Linked DNA regions of Homo sapiens: region 1 is linked to region 2. Evidence: promoter capture Hi-C in human tissues and cell types (Jung and others, 2019). All regions are on one chromosome and are shown on one strand. The core of a region is centred on a gene start or on the middle of the fragment in contact, and the rest is flanking DNA. Distances in the headings are between cores, read along the strand shown.

Region 1 (6,993 bases), core at 1,885-4,384, 290 kb before region 2:
CAATTTATTTGTCCAACTCATAATGCAGGTAAACAGGAAGATGAGATGTTTTGCCTACCTGCATGCCATGCCAGACTGCCTGGGTTTGAATTCTTTTTTTTTTTTTTTTTTTTTTTTTTTTTTAGATGTAGTCTCACTCTGTCACCCAGGCTCAAGTGCAGTGGCATGATCTTGGCTCACTGCAACCTCCATCTCCTGGATTCAAGCAATTCCCCCTGCCTCAGCTTCCCGCGTAGCTGGGATTACGGGTGTGCACCACCATGCCCACCTAATTTTTGGATTTTTAGTAGAGAAGGGGTTTCACTACGTTGGCCAGACTGGTCTGGAACTCCTGACCTCAGGTGATCCACCCGCCTTGGCCTCCCAAAGTGCTGGGATTACAGGTGTGAGCCACCACACCCAGCCCTGGCTTTGAATTTTGACTCTACCATTTATTAGCTGTGTGACCTTGGGCAAGTCACTTACACGCCTGTGGCTCAGTTTAACAACAGCACCTTCCTCTTAGGGATGCAGTGAGGTTTAGGTGCAACAAAACAGGGAAAGCTCCCACATTGGGATTCTCATTAACTGCAAGCTCCTATCATTATTTTGTACTAAGGTTATCTTGCCATGCAGCAAAGTGCCTGGGAGCACAGCTCAGAGAATAAGAAAGTTTGGATCAGATAGAAGCATCAGGAATTTATAACCAAGAGCTACCCAAAACAGTGAGGATCTGGGAGGAGGAAGAAAGAAAGCCTTCAAGTTATTTACACTGGAGATGCTAGGCTGGCGTGGGAAGGTTGGATGCCCTAAGCCTTCAGGTCTCAGTTGGGCTACCAGGCAGGTTTCTCCCCTCACCAGAGGCCGTCTCACAGTCAGCCTTGGGACCCTGGCTAGAGGCAGTTCTCCTTGAATTGCTTCGAGTGAGGCAGGACTGGTCCCAAATGGAGTCATGGGGTCATTGGGCACTAGACCACGGGTGCCTTGAAGACCTCACTGTGTGAGAGACAGATTGAGAAACACATCCAAGAATTTAGGAAGTAGATAGTGCTTTTTTTTTTTTCTTCCTGCTGATTGCCTGCCCATTGGTTGAGAGTGGGTAGTGTCAAAATTAAATCCTGATGCTTGTGCATTTTCCCTGGGAAAAGTTACAGATTTCGCTGGCTGAGGCAGTGGATGGGCGGGCAAGTGCAGGGACTAAGTGAAGGGGTCTGGAGGAGGGAAGAAATGTCTTCAGGGCATTTTTCGGAAGCTTTGCTGTGCAATGTGTTGTATAATCTTCTCCTCTATGTCCCAAGATAATTGTGCTAAAGACTGACATTTATTTTAAGGCTTTAAAAAAAAAGTTAGCTTTAGATTTCTTTGGAATGTTGTGCTGTGATGCTCCCTAAGGCACAAGCAATAGAAGTCTGTAAGTATGGGATTGTTCATTCACACAATCATTATTTATTAAGCACCTACTGTATCTGAGGAGCCATGTTAGGAGACGAGAATAGAGAGGTAGATAAGGTACAGTCTTAGTCTTCAAGTTGCTCACAGTGTACTGGAGATACAGATAAATATACAAATAATAGGTAAATTGTTGGTGTAATAATAATTGCGGTAGGCTGAATAATGTCTCCCAAACAGATCCAGGTCCTCGTGTCTGGAAACTAGGAATGCCATCTTACCCAGGTGGGCCCTAAAGGTGATCAGAAGAGTCCTTATAAGAGGAAGGCAGGGGGAGATCTCCCCACAGAAGAGAAGGCAATGTGATGGCAGAAGCTGCAATTGGTGTGATGAGCGTTGAAGACGGAGGAAGGGAGCGCACACCAAGGAATGCAGGAGGCCTCTAGAAGCTGAAAAAGTCAAAGAAACAGATTCCCCCTCAGAGTGTCTGGAAGGAACCAGCCCGACCCACACCTCGACTCTGGCCCACTGAGACCAATTTCAGACTTCTGAACTCCAGATATTTAAGATAATAAATTGAATCAATTTGTGGGGGTTTTTTGTTTGTTTTTGAGACAGGGTCTCACTTTGTTGCCCAGGCTGGAGTGCAATGGTGCCATATTGGATCATGGCAACCTCTGCCTCCCTGGTTCAAGCAATTCTTCTGCCTCAGCCTCCTGAGTAGCTGGGATTACAGGTCTGAGCCATCACGCCCGGCTAATTTTTGTATTTTTAGTAGAGACCAGGTTTTACCATGTTGGCCAGGCTGGCCTAGAACTGCTGACCTCAAGTGATTCACCCACCTTGACCTCCCAAAGTGCTGGGACTACAGGTGTGAGCCACCACACCCGGCCAAATTTGTGTTGTTTTAAGTGACTAAGTTTGCAGCAATTAGTTATATCGGCAATAGGAAACTAATACATTAGTGTTTAGTGAAAGAAGAGGCACAGAATGGAATGGACATCCTGACAATTGCCCTGCAGATATGCAGCTCATCCAGGTGTCAGAAGGGAATACAGAGAAGTGGTGCTATTGACTCTTGCCATAAAGGAATCTGGGAAGGACGTAAAGAACATCTTTACCTAGCACTGTGAGGTGTGGAGAGGTGAAGGGATTGGCCAGGGTCATACATATTCATTTACTGAGCATCTGCTCTGAACCAGCTCCTGTGTTGGTTTTGATGGGATATGAAAATAATTAAGGCAGGGTTCTTGCCCTCAAGGAACTTCCAGTCCAGCAGGGGAGAGCTAGCATAAAAGCTCTGGGTTATCATGACTTTGGACCAGTTATTTAACCTCTTTGGGTTTAGGTCCTTCTATGTAAACGATAGAAAGAGCTGCTTCACCAGATGTGAGGACCAAGTGATAAAATATATGCCAACTTGCTTTGTAATCTGTAAAGCATTATAGAAATAAAAGGTGTTATTGTAATTAGGTATAAGAAAAACAAGACACTCACTTAAGTAGCTTGAAGGCATATGAGGAAGACATAAAAAAACCACAAGACACTCACTTAAGTAGCTTGAAGGCATATGAGAAAGACATAAAAGACATACTGGAGATTCAGATGGAGTGACCGAAGAGATGAACTCAGCTAGCAGGATCAACACAGCTTTCTAGAGGAAGGACATTTTAGCAGGTTGTGGTGGGACAGGAAGTAGATGTGAGAAGGGGAAGGGGAGCGAGAGCCCAAGGAAGGGCAAGGAGGAAGAACATTTACTAGATGTGAATGTGAATGTGAGTGGCTGGAGATGAGGTTAAACGGTTAAATGATAGATTGGGCCCTGATTGTGAAGGGATAACCTGCGTCCTTTGTAGGTGACTTGAACCTCTAGATGATGAGGAATTTCAGTGGTGGGGAAGTTGGCACCTTCATAGGGCTAAATCTTAACTTTTCCATAAGCCCTTCTTAATCTTGCTTCCACCACCTCATCCCAGCTCCTCATTAAGGTGTCCAGAGCAGAACCCAGGTTGTGTGGCTCCAATCGCTGCTCCTTTCTCCATCAGTTCTATTTCAACACAAGGCAGAGTTAGGAGCTGAAACTTGTTCGTGTTTTTTTTCCCTTTAAAAAATACTGTTGGAGTTTTTTTGTTTTGTTTTTGTTTTTTGTTTTAGAAAATTACTCATTGTTGGCCAGCGCGGCGGCTCATGCCTGCAATCCCAGCACTTTGGGAGGCCGAGGCGGATGGATCACCTGAGTTCAGGAGTCTGAGACCAGCCTGGCCAACAAGGTGAAACCCTGTCTCTACTAAAAATACAAAAATTAGCCAGGTGTGGTGGTGGGTGCCTGTAATCCCTGCTACTCTGGAGGCTGAGGCAGGAGAATCGCTTGAACCAGGGAGGTGAAGGTCGCAGTAAGCTGAGACTGCGCCATTGCACTCCAGCATGGGCAACAAGAGCGAAACTCCGTCTCAAAAAAAAAAAAAAAGGAAAACAAAAAGAAAATTGCTAATTGTTAAATCATGCAAAGGATGAAGACAATAGTTTCTGGGACAGATGAGCATTCACTGTGAGCCAAAAAGCCAAATGCTGTTTAAAGTACATTCTACTTGGACCTCTGCTGATATTCTCATATCGAATAACATTGTGCTGAAAAATTGGTGGAGAATACTTGCACTAGAACAAAAATTCTGGTTCAGGGTTTGGTTCTTGGTTAAAAAATAAACTATGGGAGGCCCAGGCGGGCGAATCACGAGGTCAGGAGATCGGGACCACCCTGGTTAACATGGTGAAACTCCATAAAAAATTAGCCAGGCATGGTGGCGGGGGCTTGTAGTCCCATCTACTTAGGAGGCTGAGGCAGGAGAATGGTGTGAACCTGGGAGGTGGAGCTTGCAGTGAGCTGAGATTGCGCCACTGCACTCCAGCCTGGGCGACACAGCAAGACTCCATCTCAAAAAATAAATAAATAAAATAAAATAAAAATAAAAAATAAAAAAGGGGAATAATTGTTCTGGAAGTTGTATTCGTCTTCTCTTTCCATTTTGCTCTTATCAGCTCTACAGACGTTAACTGAGCGCCTTCTCTCTGCTGGTCTGTGTGGTGGGTGGTAGGCAGGCCCTGTGAATGGAGTTCCAGTCTGGTGATGAGGGAGTGTCAGATGACGTTCATCTACCTCAGTATTTGAGCTTTTAACTCAAAGAGTTATGACTTTTAAGGAAGATTCTAAAGCCCACTTAAATTGTCTCCTCCTCTATGTATTCTTCCCTGATAATTTGCTAGAAGGACTCTCTCTTTCTCTTTTTCTGTCCCTCGGCCTCACTCCCTTCTCCATACCCTTTCCTCTAGGTAGGAGTAATCTTTTATTCTACATCTCCCAAGACAGTTAAGATTTCAAATATTTTACCCCACAATCCCTACATTACAGTGACATGCAAATGTTTTGACAACCGAGCAACAGCTTCTGAAATACCTGTGTCTCCCAAATGATAAAAACTACAACTTGGATGGTGCCATTTTCCAGGACAGTTTAGAAGTAAAAACTGTGCTATTATCACCCTCAATTTACAGATGAGGAAACTGAGTCACAGAGAGATTAAATTATTTACCCAAGGTCACTTCGGTCAGATCTTGTGGCTCAATTTTTGGCTCAGAATATTTGGTTCCCAGAACTGCTTATCATCTCTCTCCCAGTCCTGAGACACATGAACTCTCTTTCCTCCCTGGCCTTGTCTGAAAGCTTTGAATTCACAAAACATAGAAGGTAAAAGAGTAAAAAGCTGTCTACAAAGAATCGTAATGACATGGAAAAATGTTCATGATTATGACATTATGTGAAAAATCAATACTGTACATTCATTATGATATCAACTATGTAAAGATATAAACATACTATTAAAATACTAGAAGGAAATACAACAGAATGTTGACAGTAGTTATTCCTGAACGGTGGGGTTAAGAGTGATTTTTTTTTTTTTTTTGAGACGGAGTCTCACTCTGTCACCCAGGCTGGAGTTCAGTGGCACAATCTCAGCTCACTGCAACCTCCGCCTCCCAGGTTCAAGTAATTCTTGTGCCTCAGCCTCCCAAGTAGCTGGGATTATAGGCATGTACCAGCACACCCGGTTGATTTTTGTATTTTTAGTAGAGATGGGGTTTCACCATGTTGGCCAGGCTGGTCTCCAACTCCTGACCTCAGGTGATCCACCCACCTTGGCCTCCCAAAGTGCTGGGATTACAGGCGTGAGCCACCGCGCCCAACCAAGAGTGATTTTTATATTCCTATTTATAGTTTTCTGTATTTTCCTATTTATCTATTATCAGCTCATGCTAACTTTATAAAAAGAAAAAAAGTTTTAAAATAAATCATCCACTTAAAGGAAGACATGAACACCATAGAAGAGACTGGTTGATTGAATGGTCGTCCTAGTGATCTGTGGTCTCCCAAGGGTGGAGCGGCATGATGAGTAGATTTGTGTATGTGACACATTGCTGCAATTAGATGGTCTATATGTGGGGATATAGATTTAAATTAGTACTTATGAATGAGGAAACAAAAAATGTCTCTTCTTAGAGTTTAAATGGTTTATAGAATTTGGAGGAAACCAGTCCAGAAAAGATTAGAGTGTCAGAGCTGGAAAGGGGCTTCAGAGATCCTAAAATCTAATCCTCTTTTCTTACAGATCAGTATCTGATGCCTCCTTTGTTCAGGGTATTGATGTAAGTTAACATCGACCAGGAAGGAGAAGAAGTTTGAAATCAGAAATGGAAATCTCACATCTTCCTCTGTCCTGGTCAAATTTCAAGTCTGGCCTTGCTGTCCTGGTGGCAGGACCCTTGGGCATGCCTCCCATAGCTGCTACACTAGTCTAGCCCTGCTGGAGATCTTTGCTGCTAGAGGGATCGCGCCTCTGTGGCTGTGTGAGTGATTTGGTCTCATGGTGAACGATTTGACAGAGGGCACAGGGCAGTGAGACTGGGCTTTCTGAAGACTCAAGTCTACCGGCCAGACCAGCTGAACCAAAGGATCTTCTCTCTTGGCCTTCCTAATGAACCCTTCTCCACTCTTGCCAGGCTCCCGTGACCAGCAGACTAATTTCTGTGACCAAAATAACCACTCAGAGTCATCAAACAACCAGTGACCAACCAGCAACGGACTAGCAATTTGTTCTATGACCACACTGTTTAGTATGTTTAGATCTTGCCTCAAGGTAGCATTTTGCCATTCTGTGGATCAGCAGTCCCCAGCCTTTTTGGCACCAGGGACTGGTTTCGTGGAAGACAATTTTTCCACGAACCAGGGAGCGGGGTATGGTTTCGGGATGATTCAAGTGCATTACATTTATTGTGCATTTTATTTCTATTATTATTAAATTGTAATATATAATAAAATAATTATACAACTCACCGTAATGTAGAGGGAGTGGGAGCCCTGAGCTTGTTTTCCTGTAACTAGACAGTTCTATCTGGGGGTATGGGAGACAATGACAGATCATCAGTCATTAGATTCTCATAAGGAGTGTGCAATCTAGATCCCTCACATGTGCAGTTCACAATAGGGTTCGTGCTCCTATGAGAATTTAATGCCGCTGCTGATCTGACAGGAGGCCGAGCTCAAGTGGTAATGCCAGCAATGGGGAACGGTTG
Region 2 (2,500 bases), core at 1-2,500:
TGGGGAGAGGAGATGCAGTCAGAGACACGTCGCACTTTCCCCCAAAACCGCCCCTTCCCCTGCACCTACATTGGGAAAGTCCAGGCCCAGCTTGAATTTTTCATTCAGCCACTGGCTTCTGTCATAGTCAGGAGCTGCCGTGGGGAAGAAGAAGTGAAAACAAACCTCCCCAGAGCCCAGCCCTCCTTCCCGGGGACCCTCCCAAGGAACCAGTGGCAAGATCCCTGAGACAGGTGGATCTAGAATCTGACCACTCAGTCCCACATCCCAGGGTTCAGGGACAAAGAATCCCGCTGAGGGCTCTGGACCCCACACGGCTAAGGCTTCCAGGGTTTAGGGAAGCTCTGAGGGACACCCAACCCAATTAAACAGGGGGCCCAGCATCCCGCCCCAGCATTCTGCCTTGCAAGGCCACAGGACTCCCTCACCGGGGCTCAGGGAAGGGACAGCCTGCAGCTCCAGCAGGGGAGGCCTGCAGAGGTAGCCACAGGTGGCCACCATGGGTTGCTTGGTGCCAACTCAGCGTGAGTGGGCAGAGCCCGGACACAAGGGTGTCATTACCGTCCCCCATCGTATACTTCTTTTCCTCGTAGCTTGAGTCTGTGTATTCCAGGAGCAGGCGGATGGCGTGGGCCAGCTGGAAGAGATGGCCCGCAGGTCGTGTCAGAGATGGAGGGTCCCTGACTTGGTGACTTTCTCTGCACCAGGTGAGCCCCTAGTCTACACTGCACTGCACCCCCCCCCCACCCCGGCGCACGCACACACACACACACACACACACACACACACACACACACAGGCATGCACAGGCCCTCCTGTGAGAGATAGCCCTAAGGAGGGAACCGTCCCTAGAGCCGGTCCCCAGCCGCTCGGCACTTCCCGCCCACGCGCCCGGTCCCACAGTGCAGCGGACCCTCACTCACCCCGCGGATGTCCCAGTACCCCAGTGTCATGGACATGATGCTGGTTGGTGTCGATTCTGCAGACAGGCCTCAGCTGGGCTGAACTGCGACCTCCTCTGGGGTTCCCGGCACGCAGGGGCTGGACCTAGCGCCAGACCCGCCCCCTCGGCCCCGCTGCGCCCGCCGATCTTCAAGGTCGTCACTTCCAACCGGCCGATCTTCAAGGTCGTCACTTCCAACCAACAGGCGCGGGAGGCACGGAGCAGGTTGCTGGATCCTCACTGGCTGGAAGGAGTAAGATCCACCGCCACCTCCGAGTGTTCAGGGAGCAAGGTCCGGAAGCACTAGGAGGGGCTCGGCCTCGCCAGCTTCCGTAGCCCCGCCCCGCCCCGCTCCGCTTCGGACCTCTGCTGGGTCCCCAGGGACTCGGCTGTGCGCGTGAGAGTAAAGCCAGATCGTAAGAGAAAAGTTCTTCCCCCGTTTCTTCTTCTCCGGACGTCGCCCAGCCTTCTGCCTCTCGGCTGCCGAGTTCCCACAGGCTCTGGGAGACTGAGGCTGCCAGGGTCAGACTAAAGAGAGGTCTCAGAGAGTTTAATTCAACACTTCTTGGCTACTAAGTCTTAGAAGTCTGATGGTGTGCTCTCTCTGCTGAGTTGGGGAGCGTGAATGGAGGCTATGTCACCGAAGCTGATAGAGCTCAGTCTCTGTTGCAGATGCTCCCGACCCTTTTGCATTGGGCCAGTTCCCCAGCTCTGAGACTGGGTCCAGGCTCAGGAAGTGGCCTATGTGTCAAGGTGGATTCCCATGTAGGTTTGCCTACAGCAAGACGATAGCACCATGCACACACAAGTGCTTGGACTTCTGAATAGTTATACTTCTCATTATACATTAAGACATTAAGAATGTGTCATTCTGAGTCTTTTTTTTTTTTTTTTTTTTGGAACGGGGACTCGCTGTGTTGCCCAGGCTGGAGTGCAGTAGGGCGATCTCGGTTCATTGCAACCTCCGCCTCCCGGGCTCAAGCGATTCTCCTGCCTCAGCCTCCCGAGCAGCTGGGATTACAGACGAGCGCCACGACGCCCTGCTAACTTTTTTGTATTTTCTGTAGAGATGGGATTTCACCGTGTTGACCAGACTGGTCTTGAACTCCTGGTCTCAAGTGATCCACCCGCCTCCGCCTCCCAAAGTGCTGGGATTACAGGCATGAGCCACGGTGCCTGGCCTGTCATTCTGAGTTTATCCATCTTGAGCTGGGAAAGATAAAATGTCTAGGTCCAATTGTGAAGATGATTTTTTAAGAAAGCTAACACTTATGAGAATAATTATGAAAGAAACAGAATTGATATTGTTACATTAGTATTCACCCATTTGGTCATTCCTTTATTGAAACAACAGTTGTTGAGATCCTACCATATTCCAGGCACTGGGAATAAAACAATCCTTCAAAAACACTGTACTTTGGCCACCTACGACTAGAAGTCAGGTGGGAACTACAGGGGAGAGATTTTGAAAATACGGGACACTTCTTACTGTTTTTGCACACTGAGAGGCAGTGGAGTGGGAGAGGGGTTGAGTGTAGGAGAGAGAAGCGGTGCCTG

What was found. The method cuts DNA at HindIII sites, captures the fragments that hold promoters and counts their contacts. A contact is called where the count stands out against the background at its distance.
Region 1: a fragment that was not itself captured here is called in contact with the fragment with the promoter of GSTM4 in region 2 in 1 of the 25 tissues and cell types used here (mesenchymal stem cells).

The regions. Positions count from the first base shown.
Region 1 is chr1:109,940,681-109,947,673 of GRCh38, reverse strand. No RefSeq gene overlaps it. Among named protein-coding and RNA genes, the nearest start is that of CSF1, 33 kb to the right of the region's middle. The HindIII fragment of the contact is 5,826 bases long and covers 222-6,047 here.
Region 2 is chr1:109,654,849-109,657,348 of GRCh38, reverse strand. GSTM4 (glutathione S-transferase mu 4) reads right to left here and starts at 1,250. Exons shown (of 8, transcript NM_000850.5): 1 at 924-1,250; 2 at 562-637; 3 at 70-134. The coding sequence starts at 959. RefSeq lists enhancers at 24-609, 1,483-1,532. The HindIII fragment of the contact is 7,232 bases long and covers 1-2,500 here.